Linked DNA regions of Homo sapiens: all the other regions are linked to region 7. Evidence: promoter capture Hi-C in human tissues and cell types (Jung and others, 2019). All regions are on one chromosome and are shown on one strand. Each heading gives the region's core, a stretch centred on a gene start or on the middle of the fragment in contact. The rest is flanking DNA. Distances are from core to core; before and after follow the strand shown. Region 1 has its middle 180 kb from the start of CHD6. Region 2 overlaps ADA (adenosine deaminase). Region 3 holds the start of LOC101927182 (a long non-coding RNA gene). Region 4 has its middle 47 kb from the start of CHD6. Region 5 overlaps PKIG (cAMP-dependent protein kinase inhibitor gamma). Region 6 has its middle 97 kb from the start of CHD6. Region 7 holds the start of SRSF6 (serine and arginine rich splicing factor 6).

Region 1 (2,700 bases), core at 83-2,582, 1.7 Mb after region 7:
AGTTTTTAAAATACATCCACACAAACATATTATATTGATTCTGTTTCTCTGGAGAATCCTAATACACTGAGAGATGGCCATTAATCCTTGGCTGGATGCCCCAGGTTGGAAACACCACCTAAGATGCTCTTGCCTTTATTGAAAAATGCTTTGGTTAGAAAGTTCTTTTTCATGGCCAAAAAGGATCTGCTCCTTTAACCTCCACCCTCTACCAATCTCAGCCCTGCATCCTCCAGGTGATCACAAAAGCCCTACAAATCTCACCTTCACTGAAGCCTTCAAGAAACTGCCCCGTGGCTGCCCCAGTCCCATGGAAGAGAAGTCACTGGGAAAAAGTTGCCAAGCCTGTACCTAAATAATCTCCCTTTGGGGAAAGTTCCTTGAAAGGAAGGTAAGGTTGGGGAGAAGGAAGGAGGGAGGGAAGAAAAGAGAGATAGGAGAAAAAGAGGAAAGAAGGAAGAAAGGAAGATGGAAATGCTTCCAAATACCTGCTGTGTATTTTTCATGTAATCCACCAAACACTTTGAGTAGAGATTATTCCCCACCACAGCGAAGATTAGAAAGCAAAAGATCCACAAGGGAAGGTAAATTGGCAGTGGCCATCTTTGTGATACCTCCCTTCTCAAGAGGTCCTTCCCTCAGGCCAGGCGCGGTGGCTCAGGCCTGTAATCCCAGCACTTTGGGAGGCCAAGGCAGGTGGATCACGAGGTCAGGAGTTCAAGACCAGCCTGGCCAACATGGTGAAACCCCGTCTCTACTAAAAATACAAAAATTAGCGGGGCATGGTGGTACATGTCTATAATCCCAGCTACTCGGGAGGCTGAGGCAGGAGAATCACTTGAACCCAGGAGGCGGAGGTTGCAGTGAGCCAAGATCATGCCACTGCACTCTAGCCTGGGTGACAGTGCAAGACTCTGTCTCAAAAAAAAAAAAAAAAAAAAAAAATCCTCCCTCAAGGAAGTCACCAACAGAAGCTTCCAGTTAGCAGCCTAGAAGCTTAACTACTTAATCAGTGGGCTCAGGAAAGACCTGGGAATGGTTCTCATTGGTCTAGCTTAGGTCATATGCTCATTCCTGAACCAATCACTATGGCTAGAAGAATGAAATGTTTTGATTGGCTAGCCCAAGATCATGTGCCCTTGCCTGGTCCAGAGGGTGAGAGCCGCCTCAGTTAAATGGAAAGAGGCAGAGGGATGAGGCCCGCCCCCATTACAATGAAGGAGGTAATGAGTGCTGGAAAAGCAGAAAAAATAAACAATAACGGAATCATGGTCTGAATAAAAGGGATTTCAGCAACACAGTGAATGTCTCCATCCAGTTAAGCTCTATTTAAAAAGTTATATATATATATATATATATATATATATATATATATATACACACATATATATAAATACTCTATATTGAATTATTAAAGTATAATAGTAATTGTTAAGAATGACCCAGAAAGGGAAGGTCTTGGACAATGGTAAGTTTCAACCAGCACAAATTAGTTGTTAGCACCCACAGCTCTGATCTGAAGTGCCTAGCTAGCTCTGTTCTCTTCCCAAAGGGCATATATCCTCCTCCCCTATCCCAGAAGGAAGGTCTAGCCTTTGAGGCTCTTTCCTAGTTATCCTCCCCATGTATATAATCACCCTTTGCAAGTCATATTTTTGATTTCTCAGATGTTTCCAAGATGCTTTATTGGTTAAAGCTCATTGACATGACCTGTTCCTCCATGCTCAACACTGTCTCAGTTATGGCCTCCAGCACCCGCCTGGTTTTTCATGGAAGGTGTCAGTGTTGCACTTTTACAGCTCCAATGCACAGCCTGAAATACATTTTACAGAAACTTCAACCTCACCAAACACCAATTATTCATATCTCGTTACCATATATTTTTAAAGTAATGCACAACTTAGAACATTTAAAACCACGCAGTTCTTTGCATTATGAACACATCCTTACTAACTCACAACTATAAACAATTATACTTAATCTCAGTGTACCCTCTGGGGTTAAGTAGGAAACAACTTTATAATTCTAGATTTATTCTTAGGCTTAAAAAAAAAAACATTCTTGGCATATTTGAGCTCTGAGTTTAGTATTTCTGAACTTCAGGGCAGATTGACAACTAAAGCCCTTACAGAGACTTTTATTTAATCTTTCTTTTCACTAAAATCAGAAGCTTTGTGAATTCCTACCTAAGATGTAGACAAGAGAAGGCATTGGATACCTTCTGATTACTCTTTCTCAGCTTCCTTACCTCATATTTTCTTTGGACAAATTCAGAGAAGAGGAAACAAAGGAGAATAGACAGACTGTATTCATTCATTCATTCATTCATTCAACAGATTTTTTTTGAGTGGCCACTGTGTATGAGGCACTGCGACAGGTCCTGGGTATATGATAGTGAGCAGAAAAGATTCTATCCTTGTAAGGTTTATGGTCTAGTACAAGGATCAGCTGACTATAGCCTATAGGCCAAATCTGGCCTGCCACCAGTTTTTATATGACCCACAAGCTAAGAATGGGTTTTACACTGAAATTGTTGAAAAAAAATCAAAAGAATATTTTGTGACACGTGAAAAGTATGTAAAATTCAAATTTCAGTGTCCACAAATATAGTTTTATTAGAACACGGCCATGCCCATCAATTTACATATTGCCCATGGCTGCTTTCATACAGTAGCAGAGTTGACAGGTTGCAACACAGAC
Region 2 (2,700 bases), core at 113-2,612, 1.2 Mb before region 7:
AAAGTCCTCCACCTGGGCCTGCCACCAAGGATTTTTCTTTAATTGACCTCAGATGGGGTTGAGGCCTTGGGAACTGGCCAGAACTTCCCGTGCTCCTAACTTGCAGCCGGGGTTAAGAACTACTCCTCTGAAGCCCCCAGTGCCTGCGCTTTTAGCCCGACGGACAAGTTTCTGCCCTTCCATCCTGTGACCTCCAGCAGGGCCTGACCATGTGAGTTTTCTGTGGCTGCCGTGACAAGTTGCCACACCCTGCATGGCTTCAACCAACAGAAACGTGTGCCCTGGCAGTTCTGGGGGCCAGAAGTCCAACATCAAGATATCATCAGAGCCACATGCCCACTGAAGGCTCTCGGGGGAATCCATTCCTTGCCTCTTCTGGTTGCTGGTGGCTCTAGGCATTCCTTGGCTTGTGGCTGCATCATTCCAGTCTCTGCCTCTGAGGTCACGTTGCTGCTTCCTCTTGTGTGTGTTTCTCTTAAAACTCTCTGCTTCTGTCTTATAAGGATACATGTGATTGCATCTAGGGCCCAACCAGATAATCCAGGATAAACTCTTCCTGTCAAGACATTTAATAATCACACTTTGCCATATAAGGTAATTTTTTTTTTTTTTTTGAGGTGGAGTTTTGCACTTTCACCCAGGCTGGAGTAAAGTGATTTAATCTCGGCTCACTGGAATCTCTGCCCCCAGGTTCAAGCAATTCTCCTGCCTCAGCCTCCTGAGTAGCTGGGATTATAGGTACCTGCCACCATGCCCAGCTAACTTTTGTATTTTTAGTAGACATGGGGTTTCACCATGTTGGCCAGGCTGGTCTCGAACTCCTGACCTCAGGTGATCCACCCGCCATAAGTTAATATTTTTTTTTTGAGAGGGAGTATTGCTCTGTTGCCCAGGCTGGAGTGCTAGTGGCTCAATCTCGGCTCACTGCAACCTCCGCCTCCCAGGTTCAAATGATTCTCCTACCTCAGTCTCCTGAGTAGCTGGGACTACAGGTGCATGCCACCATGCCTGGCTGATTTTTGTATTTTTAATAGAGAGGGGATTTCACCATGTTGGCCAGGCTGGTGTTGAACTCCTAACCTCAAGTGATCCACCCACCTCAGCCTCCCAAAGTGTTGGGATTACAGGCATGAACCACCACGCCCGACCCATATAAGGTAATATTTACAGGTTCTGGGGATTAGGATTAGCATGTAGACAGCTTTGTGGGGGCCACCATTCAGCCCACTATGCTAACCCTGTGAACCGTTGCTCGCTTCTCCTTGACATCTGACGGCCTGGCCTTCTGCATACCACACACCCTCCCACCTCTCTGGCCACAGTTCTGTAGGCTCAGCCTCCTCCGTAAGGCCATTAAGTGCTTGTGCTGGTCAAAGTTTCATCCTAGGCCTTTTCCTTACCTCCCTTGATATTTTCTCCCTAGGTGAGCTCCTTCAAGCCCACAGCTTCTGTGCTTACCCACACTCCTACCTACATTCCCAGCTTGGGCTTCTCAGGCCAGCTCTAGACTCTTGTATCCCACTGGGTTCTTCCACTTACCTTTGGATATCTCAAAGGCATCTCCAGTTGGCTGGGCACGATGGTTCACACCTGTAACCCCAGCACTTTGGGAGGCCGAGGTGGGCAGATCACTTGAGGTCAGGAGTTCAAGACCAGCCTGGCCAATATGGTGAAACCCCATCTCTACTAAAAATACAAAAATTAGCTGGGCATGGTGGTGGGTGCCTGTAGTCCCAACTACTCGGGAGGCTGAGGCAGGAGAATCGCTTGAACCCGGGAGGTGGAGGTTTCCGTGAGCTGAGCTGGAGCCACTGCACTCCAGCCTGGGCAACAGAGTGAAACTCCGTCTTAAAAAAACAAAAAACAAAAGGTGTCTCTAGTGTAACATAACTAAAACCAAACCAATCATGCCTCCCTCCCCCGCATCCTCCCTCCTGGAGGGAGCTCCAGGACTTGGTCTTCTCTTCCAGAGTTCTCTGTCTCAAACTGCGGGAATTGCTCCCCACCCAGGCCTAACCTGAAGTGTGAGCCTTGGCATCTCTTTCTATCCACCTGTTTTTCCTCTATGCACCTCACAACCCTGGTCCAAGCCACCGTCATCTTTCAAATGGCTGCAGTAGCCTCTAACTGGCCTTGGAGGAGCCATCCTCTTTCTCTAACCAGCTGCCAACCCTGCAATGGCCTCTGTGTGCTTTCCAGATAAAGCCTGACTCCTCGTGGCCCGCACAGCCCTGCCTGGGTGGTCCTATCCTGCAGCCTCTCCAGTACCATGAACCCTCCCTTCTCTGAACCTCTATTTAATCCATTTCATATACCCCGTTTTCTCCTGCCATAGGGCCTTGCACATGCTGTTCCTTCTGCCTGGAATTTTCTTCCTGCCTCCCTCCGCACCCCTGCCTTGTGTTGTGGGTTCCTCGCTATCCTCTAGCTTTTCGCTCAGGCTCATTGTTGGCCCTCTAGATGTATTCACTTCTCTTGTTTGTTACCCTCTGTCATAGGACTGTGTTCGTACTTCCCAAGGAGTCGTCTTGGTTTGTGACTGTACATTTTCCCATGTGACATTTGCTTAATGCCTCTCCCACTCTGGGGCCTGTACAAGCCCCAGGAACAGGACTTGGACCCTCCTGTTTAACTCTACAATCTAGCATCCAGCAGGAGCGCAGGCCTTCGTTGACTTTTATTTTATTCTTATTTTTTATT
Region 3 (2,700 bases), core at 57-2,556, 1.6 Mb after region 7:
ACTTAATAAAAGAACCATTTGCAAAGGTGGGGGCAGGTTATAGGGAAGCTTTCAGGGACAGTGCAGTACCCCGGGATTAGTAACAATGTGGTCGTTATCTTTTCTAGGCTCAAAATGACGAGGAGAGAGAACAGATACCAGAACTGGAAGGAGAGAATTTCATAAAAGGAGCCACCTTGAGGGGAACATTTACCTGCCACTGAAAGGCACAGCCAGCCTGAGGCAATTCCTTCAGAGGAATAGATACCCTGAGCATACCCTCCTCCCTCCAAACCTCTGATCTCCTGCCAAGGGTCCCTGTTGACTGGACCCACCTAGCTGAAGCTAAAGGGCACAGGAACCTGCTCATGCAATCGATCAGAGTCAGCCTCCTGGGAAGAGAGCAGAGCACAGCAGAGAGACAGCAAAGAATAGCTCTGGGTGGTGAAGAGGCACTTGAAAGGCACTTGACACAACCACCTAAGACAAAAAGAGCTGCAGGTGATCCTCACTTGCCCACGGGGATATTCACCTAACCTGGCTTCTAGCATCCCAGTCCTATCCCAGACAACTCCAGGTTAGAACTCCGCCAAGACAAAAGAACTTACTTACAAGGCGTTGGGGTTCTCTGCCTTTGCTTCCTTTATCTGTCCCGGGACTGCTTTGCAAGAGCACCTACTTCTGCATCGTGGTCTCCATTACTTCCTTCAGCCTTTCCCACCATTCACAGTTCCATTCCTTCTTCTATAGCATGAAGACGCCTGCACACACAGCTGAAACATTTTCAGTTGAGGACAAATCTAAAAGTTTTGTTTCTGCCAAAAAGCCAGGGGATATAAAACCACAGTGAGACATGGAGGCAGCCAAGAGACATAAACCTCAGATCACAGGGCACTCAGATCCAAGCAACAAAGCGGAGCAACAAGCCATGTGAGCCATTTGTCATTCTGCAGGCAATTGTCTGTTGGCATTTTTCTGAGAATATGAGAGGAAAACAAGATTCCCTTGAAAACATAGTTCAGAAAAAGTCCGTACTTGACAATATGAAGACCGTAAGCAATTGCAGATGGAGAGACTGAGAATTCTTTGAAACTACAGAAGTATAAAAGGCTTTGATACAGAGAAACAACCCGTATAACATAGACCATCATGAGATGCAGAAGCAGATTGGGGAAAAACACTGACCTACGATTCATCTATTCAACTTTCTACAAATATTTATTGAGCCTTGTGGGCACTGGACTAGGATTACAAAAGAAGGCCAAAAGAGCTAAAACAGAATGCTTTCCCTTAGCTATGTCTGATTAAGTCTTTTTTATCTTTTCCCTAGGGAAAAAGGGTTGGAAAAACAATAATAGCTACCATTTTCTGGGCATTTACAATGTATCTGATATTGTCCTAAGCATTTCCCATTTACATCTCTCTACAGCTCTGATAGGCAAGTACTATTCTTACCCCCATTTTACATATAGGGCATGGAAGGCAAGTAACCAGCAATGAGTCACATCAAAGGAGATGGTGCACAGGAATAATAACAGAACTAGGACCATAAGGTGTAGTATTTCACTGGATGTATAATGCTTTACACAATAAGAGGTGTGTATGGGAGAGGATGGGGACATAACAGAGGGAAGGAGAAATGCATGCTACCTAGCTACCTACAGATGCTTTATCAAAGGGTTCAACTAAACTTTCAGTCTAATTGATTCCCCCTTCCATGGTTATTTTCTTCATTAACTGGTCTTCTGTGCACTGACAATGTTTTGTCAGAGAATATTGATGCTTGGACATTTAAATCAATTAATGCATCCATTTCAATTGCTCATCTGTCAAGAACACCAAGTTTTCTTTCTAAATTAAGGATAGAAGGACAGTGAGGGCAGGAAGAAGCGTGTATTTGGAGAAGTATTTATAGTTATATAAAAAGGAGAAGTGTTTATACTTTGTCAAGATAAAAAGACTGATTATCATTTTTTACCTAAACAGACAATCAGGGGAGTTCAGTAGAGACTCTGGATGCAGGCTGGCTGGGTCTACCTCCCAGCTCCAGCTCTTTCTAGCTATGTGGCTTTGAGAAGAGTCCTTAACCTTTCTGAACCTCATAGAGTGATAATAACATGTGTTAAGAGCTCAGCTGTTTGGTATTCAACCACCATTGCCAATTCTCTAAGACACGTTGACCAAACCCATGGCACTAGAATGTTCAGGGCTAATAAGCTACTCTCTGACACACCCATTCGCTGCAGCTTCTAAAAGCTGAGTTGTTTAATCTTGCATTGGTTCCAAGCGTGCTAACGCTATTTATACTTGTTACTATAATCACAGATTTAATTAAATATTATATATAAGAATCTATGCATCTATGAAAACTGTGTTTGAATACTGTGCACAGGCAAATAACTTTTTAAAAAATTCTACAGAATTCGGAGTTTGGGGAAAACAAAATTCTAGAAGGATTCCTGCCCTCAGATTTCTTCACAGGTTGAATTCTTGCCCACTTCAAAGCAAGTTAAGTTAGGGATCATCGTTGATATGTAAACTTCAGCAGAAAGGAAACCTGGGTACTCAAGGAAAATACCTGGACCCCCCACATCAAAAGACTCATGAATGCATGTACACTTATATGCTTAAGTTAAAATTAAATGCTTAAAGTGTATATAATTTGTATGATTTCTTGCCTTAATTGATTTTTTTCAGTTATCTAGCCAAATACCCATTCCA
Region 4 (2,700 bases), core at 201-2,700, 1.8 Mb after region 7:
GATAAAAGCTAAGATGTCAAAATAACCAGACTTGATAAATAAAACTAAGCTTCTTCTTTAAAAAGACGAAAATGAAGAAGAAAAGGAAAAACTACTGTTAAGCATAAGCAAAAATTAAGAAATAAATCACAAGTAACACAATGCCAGGGCTCAGGAGTAGGGTCTTTATCTCCACATATTAAGAATAATTAAGCTATTTGAAAATTTTATGTTAAAATTGATGTTAATATACCTGAACATTTACCTAAAATGAATGGTATCCCATAAAAATATAAGCTCCTAAAATTGATTCTAAGAAACCTATATAGGCTAGATGCAGTAGCTCATGCCTGTAATCCCAGCAATTTGGGAGGCCGAGGTGGCAGGATCTCTTGAAGCCAGGAGTTCAAGACCAGCCTGGGTAACACAAAGAGACCCTGTCTCTACAAAACATGTTTTAAAAAATCAGCCGGGCATAATGGCAAGCACCTGCAGTCCTAGGTGCTTGGGAGGCTGGGCCAGGAAGATCCCTTGAGCCCAGGAGTTTGAGGCTACAGTGAGCTATCATAGTGCCCCTGTACCCCAGCCTGAGTAACAGAGCAAGTACATACCTCTAAAAACTAAAACAAAACAAAAGGAACCTATACTAAAATCCATTGATAAAACTGAAAATGTAAATAATCTATGCCCCTAGGTAATTCTGCCCCAGATGGTTTTATGAGTAGGTTCTAGGAAATCTTATTAAAAATACCATTTGTATGTTGTTTAAACTAGATATTTAAACTAGCATCAAAAAAGATCCAATTTCATTTTATAATGCAAAAATCTAACCAAGCACTTGCTGGTATGAAAGTCTTAAATAAAATATTAGTAAGTCATACCAAGCAGTATATTAAAAGAGTTATGTACCATGACCAAGTAGTGTTTATTTCAGGAAGAATGATTGGTTCAACATTAAGAAATCTTTGTTGAACTAAGCATCCTGTAATACATCAGATAGTGAAAGGAAAAAAACCATATGATCATCTCAATATATGCCCAAATGCATTAATTAGAGTATAACCTCCATTTCAGATGATGATAATAATGACAGTGATGACAAAAATAATGATAAACACCTTACTAAGCAAAGAACAGAGGGCCCAGGGACACTTTTTAAAATCAGAAGCCACAAGCAGCAAACTTAATGGTAAAACATTAAACAAATACTGGAGGCGTTTCTATTAAATGGGATGCTCACTATTATTGCCATTAATCAAAATGTTTCTGGAGTCTCAGAACAGTGCCATTAGGTAAGAAAAAAACAAAGGAAATACATATTAAAAGAAACAGCAAATTATTTGTATTTTCAGGCTACAGTCTTTTCTTCTTAGAAAATCCATGAAACCCAACAGAAAATATTACTGAAATTAATAAGAAAGGTCAATAAATTGGTTCAATACAAGAAATATAAATCTATGACTTTCTTATATTCCAAAAATAGCCACTTAGTAAATTGTACTAAAAAGAACTTCCATTCATAATTGCAACAATAACTGTAAATAACTGTGTGTAACTATGACCAGAAATACAGAAAACTTACATGAAGAAAATTCTAAAATATTCCAAACAAGATAAAAAGTTGGAGAGGTATACCACATTACATGGTATAAATATGTTAGCTTTCCCTGAATCACTTTATGGATTTAATACAGTTGCAGTCAAACTACCCAGGGGATTATTTTTGGAACTTGAAAGACTGATTCTTAAGTTGTCTACAAGAATGCATGCGTGCAAAGCGTCACGAAATTTTTGGGTGGGATCATAGCCACACAGAATAAAGACTACATTTCCCATTCTCCTTTGCAGCTAGATGTGTTCATGTGACTAAGTTCTGACCAATGGGAGCATTTTGTTGCGCATCCAGAAATCTTTAAGAGACAATTTACATATACCCTTTCTCCTTCCTCTTTCTCTAACCTGCTACATGGAACGTGAAGTCTGAGGATGAAACTGTGCAGGCTGGACTTTCAAGATGTTCACATTCTAGTAATGGCAGAGCAGAAAGCTGGAAGGAGCCTGGGTTCCAGAGATTTTCATGAAAGAGAGAAACCACATCAGCTCCAGATTAACACGGAGCTTAACATGAGAGAGAAATGAACTACGTATCTTATTTGAGCCATTGTTATTTTGGGCTTTCTTTGCTCATAGGTGAATCTAATACTATTAAAATAACCCTTCGTATTTCCCCCCATGCTTATATAATTATTTTCAGACCTATACAAACAAACGTACACACACATAAGTTTTATACAGTTTTCTGTCATTGTTTTCTGGGAGAAAAAAAAAACCTTTCTTCATCTTGTTTTTTCTCAGTCAATACATTGTGAAATATTATCCATGTTCATTGGTATAGCTCTAATTCATGGTTTTCATTTTTTGTTTGTTTTGAGATGGAGTCTCACTCTGTCGCCTAGGCTAGAGTGCAATGGCAAGATCTCGGCTCACTGCAACCTCCACCTCCTGGGTTCAAGCAGTTCTCCTCCCTCAGCCTCCCAAGTAGCTGGGATTACAGGCACCTGCCACCACGCCCGGCTAATTTTTGTATTTTTAGTAGAGATGGAGTTTCACCATGTTGGCCAGGATGGTCTCGAACTCCGGACCTCAGGTGATCCACCCGCCTCGGCCTCCCAAATTGCTGGGATTACAGGTGTGAGCCACCACACCCAGCGTAATTCATGT
Region 5 (2,700 bases), core at 106-2,605, 1.2 Mb before region 7:
ATAATAAAGAAATGTGCCAGATGGGCCTGTACTGACATAGGACAATGTCTGAGATAAACTGGCAACTGAAAAACAGAGGTTGCAAAACAACACCTAAAATAAAACCCAGTTCCTGTGGGGAAAGATAGCAGACATATGAAAAAAAAATCTGAAAAAACATCTATCAACCCTGTCAACTGTGGTTCTTTGTGATTAAGGGGAACTTTCGTTTTCTAAGTCTATATTTTTTCAATGGTTGAAGTTTTATAAACCCAAATTATTGTGCAATGCTTTTAGAAGGTAGCTGACATTGGCAGAAGTGCCCAGAAGGCACCCAGGGTGGGGTTGAGCCAGTAAGTGCTGCAGGTGTGTGTGTGTGTGTGTGTGTGTGTGTGAGAGAGAGAGAGAGAAGAGAGAGAGAGAGAGAGAGAGAAAGAGAGAGACAGAGAAGAGGATCAGTATGGAGGGCAAGGCCCACATCCCCCCACAACACCTAGCTCAGAAGAAACACCTAAAGAATGAATTAGGGGCCCTCAAAGATCAGACAGGTGAGACAGGGAGGTGTCCTATGGTAGAAAGAGCAAAGAATGAGACACGTGACCTTAAACCCAAGCTCTGCCACCTAACCCTGGGCAAGACCCTGCCTTTCTTGGGGCCTTCATTTCCCCTGTGTAAAATAGAGGAGGGCCAGGACACTGTCCACGGCAATTCCCCCCGGCTACAGCAGATGGCGCACCCTGCCTATCTTCCTAGCAGCCTTGCGCGCTGCCCTAGTCACGCTCTGGCTCCTCCTTGGCTAAAAGAATTCCCGGAAGTTCCAGAGGTGGCTCCTTCTACAGGTCACGGAGGTTCACTCCTGCGCTCTGCCTCTGGGGAAACCGCTCAATGCTTCAGGACAGGAAAATGGCTTATGATAATAACAGTAATAACAGAGGATAAAAATGATGCTGACAATTCCTACGATAAGGAAAGGTACCATGGCCCAGGTGCCTGTGTTTTCATACACATCACGCACTCAGTGGCCACAGCTGCCCTCTGAGGTGAGTGAGGCCGGTTTACAGCCACGGCTCAGAAGGGCCTCAGCCCCACCTGAAACCCGCTGCTCTGGAAAATGACAAACCCCGAGCAGGCCACACTGGCTCCCGGAGCCTCCGAGTCCTCGGCTCTTCCTCAGTTAGACTGTCAGCTCCACGGGAACAGGAATTTGGTCTGGATTTTTCCCATGTCCAGCTGAAACCTAATCCTGGCAGCTGAGCCAACAGGTTCTGGCCGCTGCATTCCCTGATTCTCATCCAGCACCTGGTAAAGAGCAGGCGCTCCATGCACACTCGCTGGATTTCACTCTCGGGCCTCTGAAGGAGAGGGAGTTTGTGTCTATCCCTCTTCTCCCCTGCTGCCCGCCTGTCCTCTGTGGGGAGGAGCCGCAGTTCCTTCTTGGGGCTGTTGAGAAGGGCCTCCGTGCACCGTGGAGTGCTGTGCAGGTGTTCTTGTCCTAGGACCTGACACCATGGGATGGAATTACAGGCTCTATCTGAAAGGCCAGCTTCATGCTGGAATGTCTCCTGGGGCTTTGATCTCACAATGCCATCTGATGTTACAGGCTGCCCAGTGCAGGCCACTGGCCCTCGGGACACAGAGACAGCAAATGCCACACTCAAAGACCAATCCTAGAAAACATCAGCTGGGCCAACATGCTCTGGCTACCATATCCCCTCAGGGAACAGCAATTCCAAAGACGGCTCTGGGGAGCTCTCCAATCGAAAGCAGAAACACATCGTTTTATTTTTCTCCCATATTTATATTCGTCACTCACCCTCTCATCTTTAGAGTCAACAGCAAATGGGGAAATAAAGAATCCTCAGAGTTGGAAATCCTGTCAGAAAATGGTCATTCTCAAACCCTGTTAATGAGACTGTAAACTTCCAAGACCTCCTTGGGCAGTGACTTGACAGTGTGTATCCAGAAACCTCAACTTTTTCCATATCTTTTAGCTACTAAATCAGTTTATAATAATCTATTCTAAGAAAATAATCCAAGATCTACATGAAGATAAAATGTACAAAGATGTTCCTCATAGTATTTTTTTTTTTTTTTTTGAGACAGGGTCTCGCTGTGTCACACAGGCTGGAGTGCAGTGGTACAATCATGGCTCACTGTAGCCTCAACTTCCTGGGCTCAAGCAATCCTGTTGCCTCAGCCTCCTGAGTAGCTGGGACTATTCCATGTCTGGCTCATTTTTTTTCAGGGATGGGAATCTCATTATGTTAACCAAGGTGGTCTCAAACTCGTGGTCTCAAACTCCTGGGCTCAAGTGATCCTCCTGCCTCGGACTTCCAAAGTGTTGGGATTACAGGCCTAAGCCACTGCGCCTGGCCCACAGTATTATTTATAATAGCAGGAAACTAAAGACACCAAAATGAGTTCCTAAATGGATGTGTCACATGTCCTAAACGGACAATGGAGAATTATTAATATATACATACTTAACTAATTTGTATCTAAATGAAATACCATTCAGGCATTAAAATGATGTTTGTGAATATTTTTTAAAGAAATGGCAAAATGTTCACATATAGTTAAATGAAAAAGAATACCAGTGATATAATTACATACATTAATATTTTTATAAGTAATTTTAAAATCTGTTATATTTCCTTTTTATAGTGAACACATTCACTTCATCTTAAAATTACTTAATTTTAGATTATGTGTGCATGTGGT
Region 6 (2,700 bases), core at 83-2,582, 1.7 Mb after region 7:
AACATTATTCCAGGTGTGTCTGTGAGGGTGTTTTTGAATGAGATTAACATTTAAACCAATGAGCTGAGTAAATTAGGTTGGCTCTCCCCAGTGTGAGTGGGCCTTGTCCTATCAGTTGAAGGCCTGAATAGAAAAAAAGGCTGATCCTCTCCCAAATAAGAGGGAATTATTCCTACTCAGCAGTCTTCAAACTGGACTTTGAGTTTTTCCTGCCTTTATGCTAGAGCTTAAACATCAGCTTTTTTTTGGTCTCAAGCTTGCTAGCCTTCAGACCACAACTACACCATTGGCCCTCCTGAGCCTCCAGCTTGCCAACTCACCCTGCAGATCTTGGGACACGTCAGCCTCCATAATCATGTAAGACAATTTCTTATAATGCATGTCTTTGGTTCTATTTCTGTTGGTTCTATTTCTCTGGAGAACCTGACTAATCCAGTGCTCTATGAATGTGGAATGAATGAGTAAAAGAATAAATAAACAGCGACTTACAAATCCTCTTTCAAAGACAAAGTCTATGCCAGAGAGTCTAACTCAAAAAAAGCAACATAGAGCCCGAGGGGGGCTTCCTGGAGCCACTCCCAGGGACTTGCATGTACCTGCAGGTTTCTGGGCAAAGAAAGAGTGGCGCTCCAAATGAAGGATTGGCTCTCCTGGTCATAGCCTGGGCTTGAGCTTCTTTTCATATTTACTTCTCCCTTCCCTTTTCCTCTGATCCATCAGGAATGGCTTCCCTGGGCCAACCAGCACTTCCCAACATGACTGCATGACCAGCTGGGCTAGAGTGTGGTCCTTCCTAGTGCATCCTTGTGCAAGATAATGATTGTTCACCAGCTCTGAATCAACCAGACCCAGGTCAGGGAGCCAGCTTAGCCAGGATGTCAATAAAACATAGAAAGCTGTCATGTAAAGGTTTTCCCTTTCATATTTCTGCTTTAACACTGCTCACAAGGTTTCAAAAGCACAAGTATGATCAACTTTCTTGAGCTGCCACCTCCCATGATGTTGTTTGTCACAAAGCATTCCTAAGCATCTGCATGCAGTGTCCCCATGCATTCTTCCCATGCAGGGATCCTGCAGATAGTCCCTTTTCTAACTTAATAACTACCTTTTTTAAAATGCTACATATCAGGTACTAAGCTAAGCATTTCCCATTATGATATCTCATTTGACCCTCAAGAGAACTCTAGATGTGGGATCTGCAGCACAGTTCTCTGGGTGGCCTTAGACCAAGACAGTTCTCCCCCCATTTCTTATCTGTAGTTCTCAAGAATAACTGCAGGACATGCTGGAAATAAAACATCCTGAGATAAGAGGGGAGCTGGTCAGGACAGTCCAGGCTCTGTTCCAATCCCTCCCTAGAAATGAGATGTCCTTCCAGGCTTAGCCCAGAGGGTCTTGTAACCCCGAGGTATAAAACTCAGTGTGGGCTGCTTTCTGAGGTCCCTCAGCTGCTATGAAAGTGGAGCACATGCAGTTGAGACTCCATCCACCCAGGCAGCTTTCCTGAACCTTGGAGGACTGGGTGGCAATGAATCCTCGGTTTCTGTTGTCCCTTGCTGCCTGCCTATCTGTAAGTAATAAGCTTGTTTACTTAACTTGTTGTGAGCATGGGTGTTCTGTCTCACCAAACTCAGACCAGTGGGTAACCAGCGCACAGGAAACCTTCTTTACAGAGTCTATTAATAAAGAAGGGGAAACCAAGGATCAAAGATGTCATTTGTGGCTGGGAGCGGTGGCTCACGCCTGTAATCCCAGCACTTTGGGAGGCCGAGGCAGACGGATCACAAGGTCAGGAGATTGAGACCATCCTGGCTAACACGGTGAAACCCCGTCTCTACTAAAAATACAAAAAAAAAAAAAATTAGCCAGGCGTGGTGGCGGGTGCCTGTAGTCCCAGCTACTCAGAAGGCTGAGGCAGGAGAATGGCTTGAACCCAGGAGGTAGAGCTTGCAGTGAGCCGAGATGGTGCCACTGCACTCCAGCCTGGGAGACAGAGCGAGACTCCATCTCAAAAAAAAAAAAAGATGTCATTTGCTAAAGACCAGAGAGCTAGTGAACAGCAAAACCTGCACTGCTAACTACTATATATGTCCTACGGTGGCCCTGTTGCAGAGAAGAAAAGAATCATCTGAATCAGAGGACAATATTTTAATCCAAAGGCTACGTGGCTACAGGTTGAAAGCAGAAATCAGAGCTATCCACAGGTGCAGGAGCCAGTGGGCCATCATCCATCAGCAGTGGGAGATGGCATTGGCAACCAGGGCTGAGGTTTGCTGGGAGCCAAGCTCTGGGCTTCAGCAGCCACATCTCATTTTCCTGAGGTCATAGCAGAAGCTCTGCTCCTCTGCCTCTCAAGTCATCAATTCTGACCCTGGCATCCAGCTACAAAAGTGATTTTACAGCATCTTGGGGATTTTGTGTAAAACCAAATTTAGGCATCAGGACAGTTAAAGGACACCCCACCCTCTTGCTATGACCTGGAAGGAATTTGCTTTACCTCTTTTCTATGAGATTGCAGATCCATTCCAAAGCTCTAAAGTCTAGCAGGCAAATGGGAGGCATGTGTGGCATTGGTGAGTCTGGGCTCTGCCCTAAAGAGCCAAACATTTTAAGAGAAAATGTTGAGAAAGGACCTCAGTACTTAGAATCTGAAGACTTGGATTTGAGTCTTCAATATATCACATAGTCTTTCTGGGTCTC
Region 7 (2,700 bases), core at 86-2,585:
ATGTATGGAAAAGCCAAGGCCAATCAGGAAAGGCAGTCATCTTAGCCTCAGTGGACACAGCCTCAGCCCCATTGGTCACTTTCAAATTGAAACATCAAGGACTTGTTAAAAAGTTTGAATTCAACATGCAACAATTTAAACATCAAACATTTAACATAACCAAAAATCCCCCCAACCTCCTCCCAATAACATGCCCCAATTAGTTCAAATACAGCATAAAGCTTATTTAGATCTACTTTGTGGTACAATACCACATTACTTAAAAATAGTACATTCTTTGGCCCCCATCAAGTTCCATAGCTTTAAGACCTATACTTTATGCTCCTCCCCTTCCCCGTCCCCCGCGCCCCCTACCCCACCTCCACCCGAGCCTGCCCCCGAACCTCTAACTAATGCACTGATAGGTAAGTAAGGAGAATACAACAAATACAGCCACCCCTTACTTCCTCTGTGGGAAGAACCCGTGACAGTGCTGACAAGGGGCCAGAAGAAGCCACCCACCTCCCAACTTGGCAAATAAACAAAACCAAACACCCAAACCCAATCCCCGCGCTCCGGCGTCCCATGGCTGCCCCGGGCAGACGTGAAGGCAGCGGGGCTCGGGGACACCCAAGTCAAACGACCCCCGGCCCTCGCGCCTGCCCGGGCTGGGAGGCCCCACCCCACCCACCCCCGCCCCCAGGGTCCCCAAGGGCGCGGAGCGCGCGGGGGTGGGACTCACTGCGGCTTCCGTAGCTGTAGCCGTCGCGATCGCGACGCGGGCCCCGGGCGTGCTCTACGATCACGCGCTCGCCGCAGAGCTCCTTGCCGTTCAGCTCGTAAACGGCGTCGTCGGCGTCGCGGGAGTCCTCGAACTCCACGAAGCCGTACCTAGGGGCGGTGCGAGGGCCGGACAACCGCGGGGGAGTCGTTAGCCAGGACGCGCACGTGCGCGCGCCCGTACCCCACCGCGCGCCCCCGCGACGCCGCGCCGTCGCCATCTTTGAGGCCCTGCCACGCGGCGCCGCGGCCTTGGCCGCTTCTTTCCTTGGAGAGTTCCCGCCGCCACCAGGCCTGGGACGCTGGGCGCGGGCGCCCAGGCCCGACTCACCCATTTTTGAGGTCTACTTCGAGGAGGCGGCCATAGCCACTGAAAAAGCGCTGGATGTCCTTCTCCCGGACGTTGTAGCTCAGGCGTCCTATGTAGACGCGCGGCATGTCCGTGGCGGGCGGGGACCCAAGGGCTGGTTGTCGAACGGCGGACCGCAAGCCAGTAACCGCGGTGCGGGTGCGGGGACGGCAAGAGCCCGAACACGCGCCTCACACCACAGGGGCGGCCGAGTCCAGCCACACAATGGCGCGCGCGCGCGCCAGGCTTTCGCTATATGGGCGGCCGGTGGGGCGGGGCCTGGAGCGTGATGTCAGCGCGCAGCGGCACGTCCGTCCCGCGTCGTCCCTGGGCTAGATGGTGACTGGCGAGTCCGTTGCCCGCGACGTTTCGGTGTAGTGCGGTCTTGCTAGCTTCTAGGATTTTTCTCTAGCCCTCCCCACCGTCTTTGAAAACACAATGTCTCTAATCCAGCCGCAGAACTGCTTTCTAATTTGTACCTTTTATAAAACTGTGCGCGATCTCTTCGGGGTTGAAGCTCGGGAGGCGGGCTGAGCGAATCCCCGTTTTTCATTGGTTCTCGAGGTTATCATAATAGGTCGCCGCGGTCTCTGCTTGGTGGCTTAAAACGAGGCTGCGGATTTCTCCCAGCGATTGGTTGATGCTCGTTTTGATGGGGACCGCGGTCTCGGACCCAGTCGCTTGTCTTGTTTCGCAGAATCTGAGGATCGCGCGCCGAGGTCTTGCTGACCGGGCGGAGGTCGCGTTGCGAGCGCGCAGACCCGCCGACATCAGCCTCTCCGGGTCTCACTCGCAGCCTTCGCCTCCCCGGACGTTCCCCTCTCCCTCCATGGGTCTTTCTTGGAGCCCTGGCAGCTTGACTCACTTGTGGATTGGGCTATCCGTGGCAATCCTACGCTCACTGTAGGTGCTCAAAAGGGAGCGTGGACGAGACCCGGCAGCCCTCCCACAGCGACGAACGATTTTTTTTCTCCCGTGTATGGAAAGTCCTTTGTCCCAATACTATCATTTCCTCCACTGACTTGAAAGTGCCTTATTTTGTGAGTTTATCAATGGAGATGCTATTTAAAGCTGTAGAACCAGATTGAAAACCTCAAAGGAGTAAGTTTAAGTGGAGAGCGGAAGACCCAGGCCAACGCCTGGGGTACTCTGAAATTTAAGCGCAGGAAAGGAGACTGGGAGGAGTGACTAGCGAGGTAGGGAGAAGACCAGGAGAGTAGGTGTCACCGCCGAAGCTAAAAAAAAAAAAAAAAAAAAAAAGGGATATCACTGAGATAACACCAGCTCTTTAGATATTTATGTATTCCTGCTCTGTTTTGAGTGGTGCAACCTCAATATCCTTAAGCTTCGGGTTGAAAAAGGGGGGTTTTGTCCTCCTGGAGCTATTTGGAAGTCTAGAGGGAAACGTTGTTTGTCACGACTGGGGGAGGTAGAGGCCGTGCTTAAAGTTAGATAAATAAAAAATACGAGTCTGTAATCCCCACACCTTGGGAAGCTGAGGCAAGAGGATCTCTTGAGCCCAGGTGTTCGAGGCTGCAGTGAGCTATGATCATGCCACTGCACTCCAGCCTGGGTGACAAAGCAAGACTCCA

Evidence for each region. Contacts are between HindIII fragments. The study calls those that stand out against the background at their distance.
Region 1: a fragment that was not itself captured here is called in contact with the fragment with the promoter of SRSF6 in region 7 in 1 of the 25 tissues and cell types used here (dorsolateral prefrontal cortex).
Region 2: a fragment that was not itself captured here is called in contact with the fragment with the promoter of SRSF6 in region 7 in 1 of the 25 tissues and cell types used here (lymphoblastoid cells).
Region 3: a fragment that was not itself captured here is called in contact with the fragment with the promoter of SRSF6 in region 7 in 1 of the 25 tissues and cell types used here (dorsolateral prefrontal cortex).
Region 4: a contact is called between a fragment that was not itself captured here and the fragment with the promoter of SRSF6 in region 7, in 1 of the 25 tissues and cell types used here (dorsolateral prefrontal cortex).
Region 5: a contact is called between a fragment that was not itself captured here and the fragment with the promoter of SRSF6 in region 7, in 1 of the 25 tissues and cell types used here (aorta).
Region 6: a fragment that was not itself captured here is called in contact with the fragment with the promoter of SRSF6 in region 7 in 1 of the 25 tissues and cell types used here (dorsolateral prefrontal cortex).

The regions. Positions count from the first base shown.
Region 1 is chr20:41,792,194-41,794,893 of GRCh38, reverse strand. No RefSeq gene overlaps it. Among named protein-coding and RNA genes, the nearest start is that of CHD6, 180 kb to the right of the region's middle. The HindIII fragment of the contact is 4,306 bases long and covers 1-2,700 here.
Region 2 is chr20:44,638,581-44,641,280 of GRCh38, reverse strand. All of the region lies in intron 1 of ADA (adenosine deaminase), which reads left to right. Among named protein-coding and RNA genes, the nearest start is that of ADA, 12 kb to the left of the region's middle. RefSeq lists an enhancer at 1-2,700. The HindIII fragment of the contact is 5,650 bases long and covers 1-2,700 here.
Region 3 is chr20:41,901,987-41,904,686 of GRCh38, reverse strand. LOC101927182 (a long non-coding RNA gene) reads right to left here and starts at 839. Exons shown (of 6, transcript XR_001754611.2): 1 at 588-839. The HindIII fragment of the contact is 3,027 bases long and covers 1-2,700 here.
Region 4 is chr20:41,663,941-41,666,640 of GRCh38, reverse strand. No RefSeq gene overlaps it. Among named protein-coding and RNA genes, the nearest start is that of CHD6, 47 kb to the right of the region's middle. The HindIII fragment of the contact is 4,219 bases long and covers 1-2,700 here.
Region 5 is chr20:44,608,175-44,610,874 of GRCh38, reverse strand. All of the region lies in intron 2 of PKIG (cAMP-dependent protein kinase inhibitor gamma), which reads right to left. Among named protein-coding and RNA genes, the nearest start is that of PKIG, 27 kb to the right of the region's middle. RefSeq lists enhancers at 181-240, 271-370, 421-490, 1,248-1,822. The HindIII fragment of the contact is 7,160 bases long and covers 1-2,700 here.
Region 6 is chr20:41,714,324-41,717,023 of GRCh38, reverse strand. No RefSeq gene overlaps it. Among named protein-coding and RNA genes, the nearest start is that of CHD6, 97 kb to the right of the region's middle. The HindIII fragment of the contact is 3,700 bases long and covers 1-2,700 here.
Region 7 is chr20:43,456,531-43,459,230 of GRCh38, reverse strand. It overlaps SRSF6 (serine and arginine rich splicing factor 6), which reads right to left and starts at 1,335. Exons shown (of 6, transcript NM_006275.6): 1 at 1,091-1,335; 2 at 722-870. The coding sequence starts at 1,197. RefSeq lists silencers at 549-808, 819-918 and enhancers at 1,059-1,158, 590-1,537, 1,459-1,618, 1,679-1,998. The HindIII fragment of the contact is 8,319 bases long and covers 1-2,700 here.